Linked DNA regions of Homo sapiens: regions 2, 3 and 4 are each linked to region 1. The links are contacts of gene promoters, found by promoter capture Hi-C in blood cells and fetal thymus (Javierre and others, 2016). All regions are on one chromosome and are shown on one strand. The core of a region is centred on a gene start or on the middle of the fragment in contact, and the rest is flanking DNA. Distances in the headings are between cores, read along the strand shown. Region 1 holds the start of SPR (sepiapterin reductase). Region 2 has its middle 13 kb from the start of NOTO. Region 3 overlaps CCT7 (chaperonin containing TCP1 subunit 7). Region 4 overlaps NOTO (notochord homeobox).

Region 1 (2,815 bases), core at 44-2,543:
ATACACATATACAGAGTCTTATCAGCGTTAAAATACCAAAAGCTTAAAAAACAATTAGCCAGGCGTGGTGGTGCGCACCTGTAATCCTAGCTACTCAGGAGCCTGAGGTGGAAGGATTGCTTGAGCCCAAGAATTCAAGGCTGCAGTAAACTGTGATCACACCTCTGCACTTCAGTTTGGGCCACAGAGCGAGACTCTGTCAAAAAAAAGAAAAAAGAAAAGAAAAAAGCCTTCCTCCAAGTTGTTTCTTCCTTAGAGTTGGCAATAATAGTGGAAAGGCGGTAACTTTGCTGTTTAGCCCCAGGGGAGGGATCAGCCCTGTGGGGAATTGGGCTAAGTTATCAGAGGTTACTTACTGCCCTTGCTAAACTCTAAAGAGATTCGTTTTTTAAAAACTGACACACAATATTTGGACATATGTATATACACAATGGAATACCACTCGGCCACTAAGAAGGAAACCATGAAGAGATTCCTTTTTAATATATGTAGCTGCATGCCAACTTGTCTCACGTTCCTCCTCTCCTAGAAAAAAAAAAATGTGGATTTTTCTGAAGCACCTGCCTGGAGGTACAGACAGATGATTGCGCAAACTTGAAGCTGAAAGTGGATGGAATTGCTGCCAGGGAGACTGTAGCATGAGCAGGAGCAGAATCCTGGGGAACACACTTTTAGGGACAGGAGTCAGAAATCTCAGAGAAGCAGGGGTTACTGGTGGGATCACGGAGCTGCTCAGGGCCTAGTAAAAGGGAAAGGTTTTAATATCATTTGGAGCCACTGTGGTTCTCCCAGAGGAAGCTCCTGTCATCCAGAGAGCGGTGAGCTCCCAAACAAGCAGAGACTTCAATTCCTAAACAGGCATAAGCTTCATTCAGGGTGTTCACTGGCCACGACCAGGGACGCCCAGCACCCAGTGCAGGGCCTGCCCTGGAAGAGGTCAGTAGTGCAAAGTTAGGGCTGGAACTGGGAGGAAATTCGAGCATGCGTCCCAGCCGGAGGCTGAGCTTGCGGGCGAAGAACACGGCAGCGCTGGGAACCGGGCTAGGGCTTTCCGTGTGGGCCGCGCCTGCCGGCCCTCTCTGTTGTCCCACTTGGCACGGACTGGGCTACCGCCACGGTTTGACTTCCGCCACCAGCAACCAAGGGAACCAGATCCCAAGGGAACCAGCACCCCTGGGCGCTCGCGGCCCGAAGCCTGAGGTTCCCGCCCCGCCCCGGCAGGGCGGCCCCGCCGACACCCGTAGCGGTCCCGCCCCCCGCGGCCGCACCGCCTCCTGCCTGGTCTCGGGTGCCAGCGCCGCCGGCGGAGAACAGGAGCATGGAGGGCGGGCTGGGGCGTGCTGTGTGCTTGCTGACCGGGGCCTCCCGCGGCTTCGGCCGGACGCTGGCCCCGCTCCTGGCCTCGCTGCTGTCGCCCGGCTCCGTGCTTGTCCTTAGCGCCCGCAACGACGAGGCACTGCGCCAGCTGGAGGCCGAGCTGGGCGCCGAGCGGTCTGGCCTGCGCGTGGTGCGGGTGCCCGCCGACCTGGGCGCCGAGGCCGGCTTGCAGCAGCTGCTCGGCGCCCTGCGCGAGCTCCCCCGGCCCAAGGGGCTGCAGCGACTGCTGCTTATCAACAACGCGGGTAAGACCCCGGGGCTGGAGCGGACTCCCCATGTGAGCGCCCACTTCCTCCACCGCTGGGGAATTTAAGGGCTACTCCTAGGGGTCAGATAGGACGCCTAGAAATCTAAAGCCCTAGTTGTTCCAGCTTGAGTAGCAAGTGGAGGCGAGGTGTACAGGAAGACTCGGTGCCGTCGGGACAACAGTCTGCCCCCACTTCCTGGAAAATTGGCCAGCCGGGTTTTCCAAAGCGCCTGTAGAACTTTCCCGAGCCCCTTGCTCTGCGCCCTCTGGCGGAGGCCTGAGTCAGGGCTTGGAGTCTCCAAACAAGTAAACTCTCTGCTTCTCCAAAGGACCGCTAGAGCTTTCCTTCAGCCCCACGGCAAGGCAGGTGCCTTCTCATTCTGCAGCTTGGGATGGCTAGGTTCCCCAGCTGTGTCTTTCCGCAGAGCTGGGGAAGAGAGAAGCCTCTTCAGAAGCGCTAGGCAGCTTCCTCCTCTAGGTCTGCATGGGAAGAGGATATCTGGAGGAACTTGGGAGGGCTGGGGAAGAAGAAAGCCCCGCCTGCACTGAGTTACTCCTAAGGGTTGGTTTTTCAGGCTCTCTTGGGGATGTGTCCAAAGGCTTCGTGGACCTGAGTGACTCCACTCAAGTGAACAACTACTGGGCACTGAACTTGACCTCCATGCTCTGCCTGACTTCCAGCGTCCTGAAGGCCTTCCCGGACAGTCCTGGCCTCAACAGAACCGTGGTTAACATCTCGTCCCTCTGTGCCCTGCAACCTTTCAAAGGCTGGGCGCTGTACTGTGCAGGAAAGGCTGCTCGTGATATGCTGTTCCAGGTCCTGGCGCTGGAGGAACCTAATGTGAGGGTGCTGAACTATGCCCCAGGTAGGTGGGAAGTCCTGCCGTCCCTGTCCTCCAGAACCCACTGGTGCGCCTCTGGGGGCTGGGCAAGCGGCCTAGTCCGCCCCCTCCAGGAAACAACCCACAGGATTTTGTCCTTGAATCTTGACCCATCACCCCTTAGGGGAAATACAGACCCAGGGGAAATAGAGGTGGCAGGGGCCGGGGATACTGGTAGAGAGTGAGGAGTTTCCTGGACTGGAGGGTGGGGCAGGAAGGTCTGAGGTATTAGATGGAGTTTGGGAGAAGACTGGGGTTTGAGTTCCAGGCCTTCCTCATGTGAAATGGGGAAGACGCTCCCTGCCTCACA
Region 2 (2,833 bases), core at 165-2,664, 300 kb after region 1:
TGGTTCTTGCATCCTCTCCCCTCTCTGACTCCATCTATTTATGGCACTTGGAGAGGTCACACACACAACACAACCCAACTCTCTTTGTGTCTGTCCATTTCAACAATGCCCCTCAGATCAGGTTCAAATGGTGAAAATGCTGAAAAAGGAGCTAAGGTGTAAGATAGGTGGTGATTTTTAAAGAAGAACTCATACCTTTGTTTGCCTCTCCTATGGGTATTGGAAGTTTGGTCAGTTATGAGTAGTTAAAATTAATTGGCCCCCACTGGGTGCAGTGCTGTAATCCCAGCACTTTGGTAGGCTGAGGAGAGCAGATCATTTGAGGTCCCAGGTTCAAGACCAGCCTGGCCAACATGGCGAAACTCTGCCCCTACTAAAAATACAAAAATTAGCTGGGCTTGGTGGCGGCACCTGTAATCCCAGCTACTCAGGAGGCTGAGGCAGGAGAATCGCTTGAACCTGCGACGTGGAGGTTACAGCAAGCCAGGATGGTGCCATTGTACTCCAGCCTGGGCGACAAAGCAAGATTCTGTTTCAAAAAGAAAGAAAGACAGAAAGAAAAAAAAAGGGCCCTTAAAAGGATTCTGTCTCTCTCTCTCACTCACTCACTCTCCTTCTATAACTCCATCTCCTGCTTACCCACAAAAGAAAAAAAATCCTCCCTCCTCTCTAAGGGCTATGAGCACAGAAGAAAAATCAATTCAATTCCATTTCAACCATTAAATAAACACTCTCATCGTATGATTTGAGTCAACAGAACTATTAGGTTGGTGCAAAAGTAACTGTGGTTAGACCGGACGTGGTGGCTCCTTTCTGTAATCCCAGGACTTTGGGAGGCCAAAGCAGGCGGATCACCTGAGGTCAGGAGTTCGAGACCACCCTGGCAAACATGGTGAAACCCTGTCTCTACTAGAAATACAAAAAAGCCAGGTGTGGTGGCACGCGTCTATAATCCCAGCTACTCAAGAGGCTGAGGCAGGAAAATTGCTTGAACTCAAGAGGCAGAGGTTGCAGTGAGCTGAGACTGGGCCACTGCACTCAAGCCTGAGTGACAGAGACTCAGTCTCAAAAAAAAAAAGTAATTGTGGTTTTTACCATTAGTTTCAATAGCAAAAACTGCAATCACTTGTGCACCAACCTAATGGGTTTGAATTCTGGCAGGTCACTAGTTGTAAAAGAAATCACATTACTGCCCAAGATCCAGTTTCCTCATCTGTAAAATGGGGATAACAGTATGATTGTGGGAATCAAAAAGAATGCACAGGTGTGCCCCTTGCAATGTGCTTATGCTATAACAGGGGTTCACTGGAGGACCATCCCTCTTTCTTTTCCCTTTTTTCAGAAACTAGAATGATAGGGGAGAGAGAGAATTCAACTCAACCAATATGTGCTAAGCACCGTGGAAGGTGTGACTAGCGGATAAAAAGATGAATACGGCACTGAAGTGGGTCTTGGGTTGTCACAGGGGTGTGCAGAGTGAGCTGGAAGTTCACAGTCCTGAACTGAGTTTTCTCTTGGGCAAGTCACTCCACACTTAGTGGGTCTTCAATGTCTTCCCTTTTCAGTACAAGAAAGGGCTGTCAGGGCAGGCACACAGTGGCTCATATCAAAAATCCCAACACTTTGGGAGGCTAGGTAAGAAGATTGCTTGAGGCCAGGAATTCGTGACCAGCCTGAGCAACATAGCAAAAGCCCATCTCTGCAAAAAAACAAAAAAAAAAAACATAAAAAATGAGCCAGGGCTGGGGCGGTGGCTCACACCTGTAATCCCAGCACTTTGGGAGGCTGAGGTGAGTGGATTACCTGAGGTTAGTAGTTTGAGGCCAGCTTGGCCAACATGGTGAAATCCCGTCTCTACTAAAAAAGCAAAAATTAGCCAGGTCTGATGGTGGGTGCCTGTAGTCCCAGCTACTTGGGAGGCCAAGGCAGGAGAGTTGTTTGAACCTGGGAGGCAGAGGTTGCAGTGAGCCAAGGTCGTGCCACTGCACTCCAGCCTGGGTGATGGAGTGAGACTCCATCTCAAAAAAAAAAACAAAAAACAAAAAAAAAGGCCGGGCATGGTGGCTCACGCCTGTAATCCCAGCACTTTGGGAGGCCAAGGCAGGCGGATCATGAGGTCTGAAGTTCGAGACCATGCTGGCCAACATGGTGAAACCCTGTCTCTACTAAAAATACAAAAAAAGAGCCAGGTGTGGTGGCACGCACCTGTAGTCCCAGCTACTCGGGAGGCTGAGGCAGGAGTATCGCTTGAACCCGGGAGGCAGAGGTTGCAGTGAGCCCAGATTGCACCACTGCACTCCAGCCTGGTAACAGAGCGAGACTCTGAGAAAGAAAGAGAGAAAGAGAGAAGGAGAGCAGGAGGGAGGGAAGGAAGGAAGGAAGGAAGGAAGGAAGGAAGGAAGGAAGGAAGGAAAAAAAAGAACGAAAGAAAGAAGGAAGGAAGGAAGGAAAGAAAGAAAGGGCTTTGACTAGTTTGCTGCTAAAGTCCCAACCAGCTGTATAAAGTGCTCCAAGTGAATAGAAAACATACTTATCTCACTGCACAAGGGTTATTTGCCCTGGCTGTCAACCTTCCTCTCTGACTAATCCTTCTTCTTCTGTCCTTGCTGTCCCTAAACATAGCAGTCCCCAAGGGATCCATACAAGCCCCTTTCTCTTTTACTACAGCATTTTCTCTCCGTGTGATCTCACCCACTCTCATCCCTTGATAGACTTCCCTCTCTTCAGATGCCTCTGCAGAGGAAAGTGTCCTCCACAGAGCCCTCCTGGACCTATGAAGTTATTACTTTATCTATTTATTTATTTATTTATTTATTTATTTATTTTTGAGACG
Region 3 (2,780 bases), core at 33-2,532, 350 kb after region 1:
TATACACAAGCATTGGGTAAGTTAACCTGTTGAGGTGAAAGAACCTGTTGAAGGTGATAGGAAGTGATTGAGACTCATGTTAGTTTTTGATTTAAAGTGTAAGACTCCATCCGTGGCAGGGGTGGACCAGAGAAGACTTGGGGCTGCCATAAGGAATGATTTAGCAAGACTGGGAGATGGTAGGGCCTTTCAGGACACACATCTTTCCCTTACAGAAGGTGCCAGGGACTGGGCCAGCTGAAGAGCCAGAAAGAATGCTGGGAGTATAGAGAAGCCATTTCTTGCCACCAGACCTGGGACACTCCAGCAAAAGGAAGGAATTTTCCCTTCAGTTGACGCCTGATCCCAAATGTAGGGGTTTACATGACAAGCATTCTTTTTAAAATAAAAAATAAAAGGAGTAATGTATGATTATTTGACAAGCATTTAAAAAAATTTAATGAGGGCCTGGCATGGTGCCTCATGCCTGTAATCCTAGCACTTCAGAAGGCTGAGGCAGGAGGGTTGTTAGAGGCCAGGAGTTGGAGACCAGCCTGGGCAACATTTTTTAAATACAAATTTAAAAAATTAGCCAGGTGTGGTACCTCATGCATTGCGGTCCAGCTACTCAGGAGGCTTGAGCTTATAGTAAGCTATGATCTCACCACTGCACTCCAGCATGGGTGGTGGAGCAAGACCCTGTCTCTTAGAAATATATATTAAAAAATGAATAATATATTAAATTACTCCCACTCTCTTATTCCGTAGAGTTTATTGGGTATTTTTCGTTTTCTTTTTGTAGAGACAGGGTCTTGCCATGTTCCCCAGGCTGGTCTTGAACTCCATGAGCTCAAGTGATCCTCTTTTTTCTACAGTGGTTTTTGTTTTTTATGTAAATCACAGTATGCCATTCCTCTGCTGAAAGCTTCCCAGGGCTTTCCTTTTTAGGAATGAAATCTGAACTCCTCACCATAGTGTGTCTACGAGTGTGTATGTGATCTGGTTCCTGCCTGCCTCTTCAGCTTTATTCCAGTCTTCCTCTTGCTTACTACCCTCCAGCTGCGCTGGCCAAAAGAGTTGAACTTTTTAAGGAATTGACCAGTTAATAAGGAATCAGCCTCATGAGTGGCAAGACTCTGTCTTTGGCAGGAATTCCTCACTCCTCATTGTTAGGTTGGGAAAGCTCTGTGCTTTCCTGTGCCTTCCTTGCTCAGACATCCACGTACCTCTAAGGACTAGGTGATGGCTTTCAAACTTTTTATTGCATTCCACAGTAAGAAATACATTTTTAATCATAGCCTAGTAACAAATTTAACACAATAAAAGTTTTGAAATAGTATTTATCCTTACTACATTCTGTGTCACACACAAAATTAGCCAGAAACACTTGAGAAGACTGGATCTAGTTCGTGGGCTTATCTCTGAAGGCTCAGATTTGAATGTGGAGAGAAAGTAGTCTGGTTTGCTAAGCTGAGAAATTGCTCTCTCTGCTAATAATGGTGGTCACTAGAGCAAAGATATCTGAGCGGGCCCTTTAAAACAAGCAAGTATCCCTGTTTCTCAGTTTCTAAAGCAGGTCTGCAAATGAAGCCCTTACGGGGATAGGGAATGTTCTGGAGACCAATGCAATATAGAAAGAGGAAAACTTCTTTGGGGTATCTGATTGGAAATTAGTCACACAGAAGCTTTATTCAGCCAGCATGAGAGATGGAAACATTGCTGTATGAATTAGATTTGCCATCATTTTTCAAAACAGGGCAAAGGTGCTGTTTGTTTCTCTGCCTGTTTTCCTACACTGCAGCTGAACATCACTGTTACATAAAGCTGACTGCCTAGGCATCTCTAGGACAACACCTCAAGCTCTTGGCATCTTGCATTTTGCATCAGTGTCCCATCTGCTTCTCTAAGATTGAGCTGTAACACAGACAAGTGGATGTTTTGCTGCGGAATGAACACTTAGCAGGGTCTGCCTCTTCCTCCTGTGTTGTGACCCAATTCCTCAGCACAGGGAGTAAGGTCAGAAGTTGAAAAGGCCATGGTCATTCAGCTGGGTACTGGAGAACTCATGATTTTTTCTTTTAGATTAGGTCAGTGCTTCTCAAACCATTTTCCTGTCTAGCATACCTGCAGGGTAGGCTAAATTTGATAGTGTCTCTGGAGGTAGAGGCTGGTTGGGGAATGGATGTGGTAGACAGTTGGGGGAATGTGGTTTAAGAAGACCTCTAGATAATTCTGTTAAGGGAGAGATGGGAGCATTTTCCCCTTTCCCCTGCCAGTCTCATTATAATAGATGATTATTAAAAGCAGTTAATTTCTTTCTTTTCTAGCCCACACCAGTTATCCTATTGAAAGAGGGGACTGATAGCTCCCAAGGCATCCCCCAGCTTGTGAGTAACATCAGTGCCTGCCAGGTGATTGCTGAGGCTGTAAGAACTACCCTGGGTCCCCGTGGCATGGACAAGCTTATTGTAGATGGCAGAGGTAAGTCTACAGAGTTCCTCAGGCCTGTGTGCAGGAAAGGAGGCTCCTGAGGGGGTGTTTGGGACTAGCATAGGTTGGTATCAGAAATCCCACTGCTTTTAAGATCGTTGAAAGATGACTCACTCTGAAGCAGTTCCAATTCTTATATTGTCCTGACTGCTGAGCCCGTGTGGGACTATATGAGAGAACCTAGGCTCAGGAGCCTGTTGCCTCATAGGGAGACGTGGCCTAGAAACATGAAATAGAACCATCTGGAGTTTCCTGTGTTCACTTCCATTGTTATCAAGATGAGAAAATTCCTGTTTATATCTTGGTATATT
Region 4 (2,700 bases), core at 140-2,639, 320 kb after region 1:
CTGGCACCCGCTGACCTCTCCCATTTCCCTCCCTTGACTTTCTCCTCTCACTGTCATCCGTGCTCTCCTCCTTCCTGGTCCTCAAACACTCCAAGCTTGGTTCCATTTCAGAGCCTTCCTACAGGTTGTTCCCTGCCCTGCAGACCTGCTCTTCTCTGTCCCCATCAGGTGGGCCTCTCTCTCTTTGAGCCTCAGCTTTAATGCTGGCTCCTTAGGGAGGCCTCCTCTGCCCAAACCCCTGTTTGTACCCCCTTTTGTGTTTACATAGCTCTTTGTTTGTTTACATGTTTCTTGCCAGTGTTTCTTCACTAGCTCATGAGCTCCACGAGGGCAGGCAGCTTGCCTCTGTTGCTCACCACTGTATCAGCATCACCTAGGATGGTGCTTAGCACATACTGGAAACTCAGTAAATACTCAGATGAATGAATGGTGTCTGGAATTGTAGAAAGGGGTGTTTTGGAGGAGGTACCTCCCTGAGAAGGAAGAGCAAATATTGGCCAGGCAGAGAGGGGTGTTCACTCCAGGAATTAGGAAGCAGTGGGACCTGATGGTCACATTCTGATCTCTGCCCACTCTCCAATTATAGGTGAGAGTCTGGTTCCAGAACCGCAGGGTCAAGTATCAGAAGCAGCAAAAGCTGAGGGCAGCAGTTACATCTGCCGAGGCTGCCTCCCTGGATGAGCCTTCCAGCAGCTCCATCGCCAGTATCCAGAGTGATGATGCCGAGTCAGGAGTGGACGGCTGAAGACTGGGACAGAGGCCCTAGCCAGGCTGCCTGGACTAGTTCCTCCTGGGGGTACCCACTGGAGCTCCCTGCCTCACACCTCAACGAAAAGCCTCCTCAACCAGAAGAATCTGAGCTGTCAAGCAGGGACCCCCTTTTCTATACTGATTCCTGGAAACTGGAATAATGTAATGATTGGAGGCACAGACTCTGGCCTTCAGCTATGTCCTTGGCCAACCTATGGAACTTCCGAGCCTTTTTTCTTTATCTGTATAATGGGTGCATTCATAACTTAGATCACCCAGGGGTGAGAAGATGTCTGTAAAGCAATAATGTGCCATGCACAGTGCAAAGTGTGTGGTTACTGTTAAGGCTTGTAGGCCCCTGAGTAGAGAAGACCAACTGGAAAAAAAAAAGTTTTTTTCTTCTGCTGTCACCCCACAACAATCAACACAGAACACTTCTGTGACCAAACGTATAGGGGTGTACCCCACATTCCAACCTCCAGTTCAGCAAATTCTGACATGATCTACCTGCAGGTAGTGTCTGACCCCACAGATTCAGGGCTCATTCCACATGGCAGCCCCTCCTTTCTTTTTTTTTTGAGACAGACTGCAGTGGCGCGATCTTGGCTCACCGCCACCTCCGCCTCCCGGGTTCAAGCGATTCTCCTGCCTCAGCCTCCCGAGCAGCTGGGACTATAGGCGCATGCCACCATGCCTGGCTAATTTTTATATTTTTAGTAGAGACGGGGTTTCATCATATGGTCAGGCTGGTCTTGAACTGCTGACCTTGTGATCCACCCACCTCGGCCTCCCAAAGTGCTGGGATTACATGTGTGAGCCACCACCCGGCCCAACCCTGCCCTTTTTGTTTTTTATGGAGTCTTAAGGTCTACCAGTCATCAGTCAACTCATTAGCATATGAAAAGACATCACTTCAGAGATTCTAGGGATTTTAGGAGTTCTATGCCAGGAAATCGAGATGAAGACCAAATATATATTTCATAATATCACAGCTCCCCTCACCTGGGGGAGTAATACCTGTACCAGCAATTAATATTTTCCTGGCCTGGCTGTGGAGAAGGAACCTCTTTGAATAAGCATCTGGGCATAGAAGACTCTTCACCATCAGAAGGAGTTGAGAGCAAAGAAGAGAAGGTAGACTGTTTAGCCCACTTCACAAAGTTTCCCAACGTTTTCTTGTTTTGTCTGAACTGTTACCATTCTCAGAAGAAGCTCAGGCCCAGCAGCAAAGACAAGGACTCGCTCTGTCACCCAGACTGGAGTGCAGTGGTGCAATCATAGCTCACGGCAGCCTCAACCTCCTGGGCTCTAGTGATCCTCCCACCTTAGCCTCCTAAGCAGCTGGGACTACAGGCGCGTGACACCACGCCTGGCTAATTTTTAACATTTTTTGTAGAGACAACGTCCACTTGTTGCCCAGGCTGGTCTTGAATTCCAGGCTTCAAGTGGTTCTCCTGCCTTGGCCTCCCAAAGCCCCATCTTTTTATAGAATAATTTGTGTATGCCAAGGCTGGCATTTTGTCATAAACTCTGCTGTGTTTTCACAGGACAGTTATAATTTCCCCCTTTCATGACTCTGACTCATGGCTCCTTTTTCTTCTCAAGAATGTGCTCGATTTCTCTGAAAGAAGCCTGCTGCCAGGATTTGCAGAGCTGATTTCTGTAGCACAGACCATTCAGATTCTAGAATGGCTCTTGGGGACTGAGCTGAGGGATGGAAGGAAGCCTGCCCTGCCACCTGGTGGTGAGTGAGGGCACGGCCCCCAGCTGCTCTCGGGTAGGTTTGCCCCCAAGTACGTGGACTATTCGCTCCCTGACACCGGGCTGCAGGCTTGAGGGGACCCAGGGTCGGTTTCAAGAGCCTCTTCTCTGGCCCTGCCAACTATCTATCTCCCCCAAGTCCGTGGACTATTCGCTCCTTGACACCAGGTTGCAAGCTTGAGGAGAGGC

Evidence for each region. The method cuts DNA at HindIII sites, captures the fragments that hold promoters and counts their contacts. A CHiCAGO score of 5 or more calls a contact.
Region 2: a fragment that was not itself captured here is called in contact with the fragment with the promoter of SPR in region 1 in 4 of 17 cell types (fetal thymus, endothelial precursors, megakaryocytes and 1 more); the score reaches 9.8 in fetal thymus.
Region 3: a contact is called between a fragment that was not itself captured here and the fragment with the promoter of SPR in region 1, in 1 of 17 cell types (endothelial precursors). The highest score is 5.1, in endothelial precursors.
Region 4: a contact is called between a fragment that was not itself captured here and the fragment with the promoter of SPR in region 1, in 9 of 17 cell types (endothelial precursors, megakaryocytes, monocytes and 6 more). The highest score is 11.2, in endothelial precursors.

What each region holds. Positions count from the first base shown.
Region 1 is chr2:72,886,115-72,888,929 of GRCh38, forward strand. SPR (sepiapterin reductase) reads left to right here and starts at 1,294. Exons shown (of 3, transcript NM_003124.5): 1 at 1,294-1,622; 2 at 2,200-2,490. The coding sequence starts at 1,319. RefSeq lists silencers at 1,146-1,535, 2,174-2,348. The HindIII fragment of the contact is 9,789 bases long and covers 864-2,815 here.
Region 2 is chr2:73,188,450-73,191,282 of GRCh38, forward strand. No RefSeq gene overlaps it. Among named protein-coding and RNA genes, the nearest start is that of NOTO, 13 kb to the right of the region's middle. The HindIII fragment of the contact is 4,620 bases long and covers 1-2,833 here.
Region 3 is chr2:73,237,337-73,240,116 of GRCh38, forward strand. It overlaps CCT7 (chaperonin containing TCP1 subunit 7), which reads left to right. Exons shown (of 12, transcript NM_006429.4): 2 at 2,307-2,460. Among named protein-coding and RNA genes, the nearest start is that of CCT7, 4.4 kb to the left of the region's middle. The HindIII fragment of the contact is 760 bases long and covers 903-1,662 here.
Region 4 is chr2:73,210,185-73,212,884 of GRCh38, forward strand. It overlaps NOTO (notochord homeobox), which reads left to right. Exons shown (of 3, transcript NM_001134462.2): 3 at 587-2,329. The coding sequence ends at 745. Among named protein-coding and RNA genes, the nearest start is that of SMYD5, 2.7 kb to the right of the region's middle. RefSeq lists a silencer at 2,525-2,594. The HindIII fragment of the contact is 2,592 bases long and covers 94-2,685 here.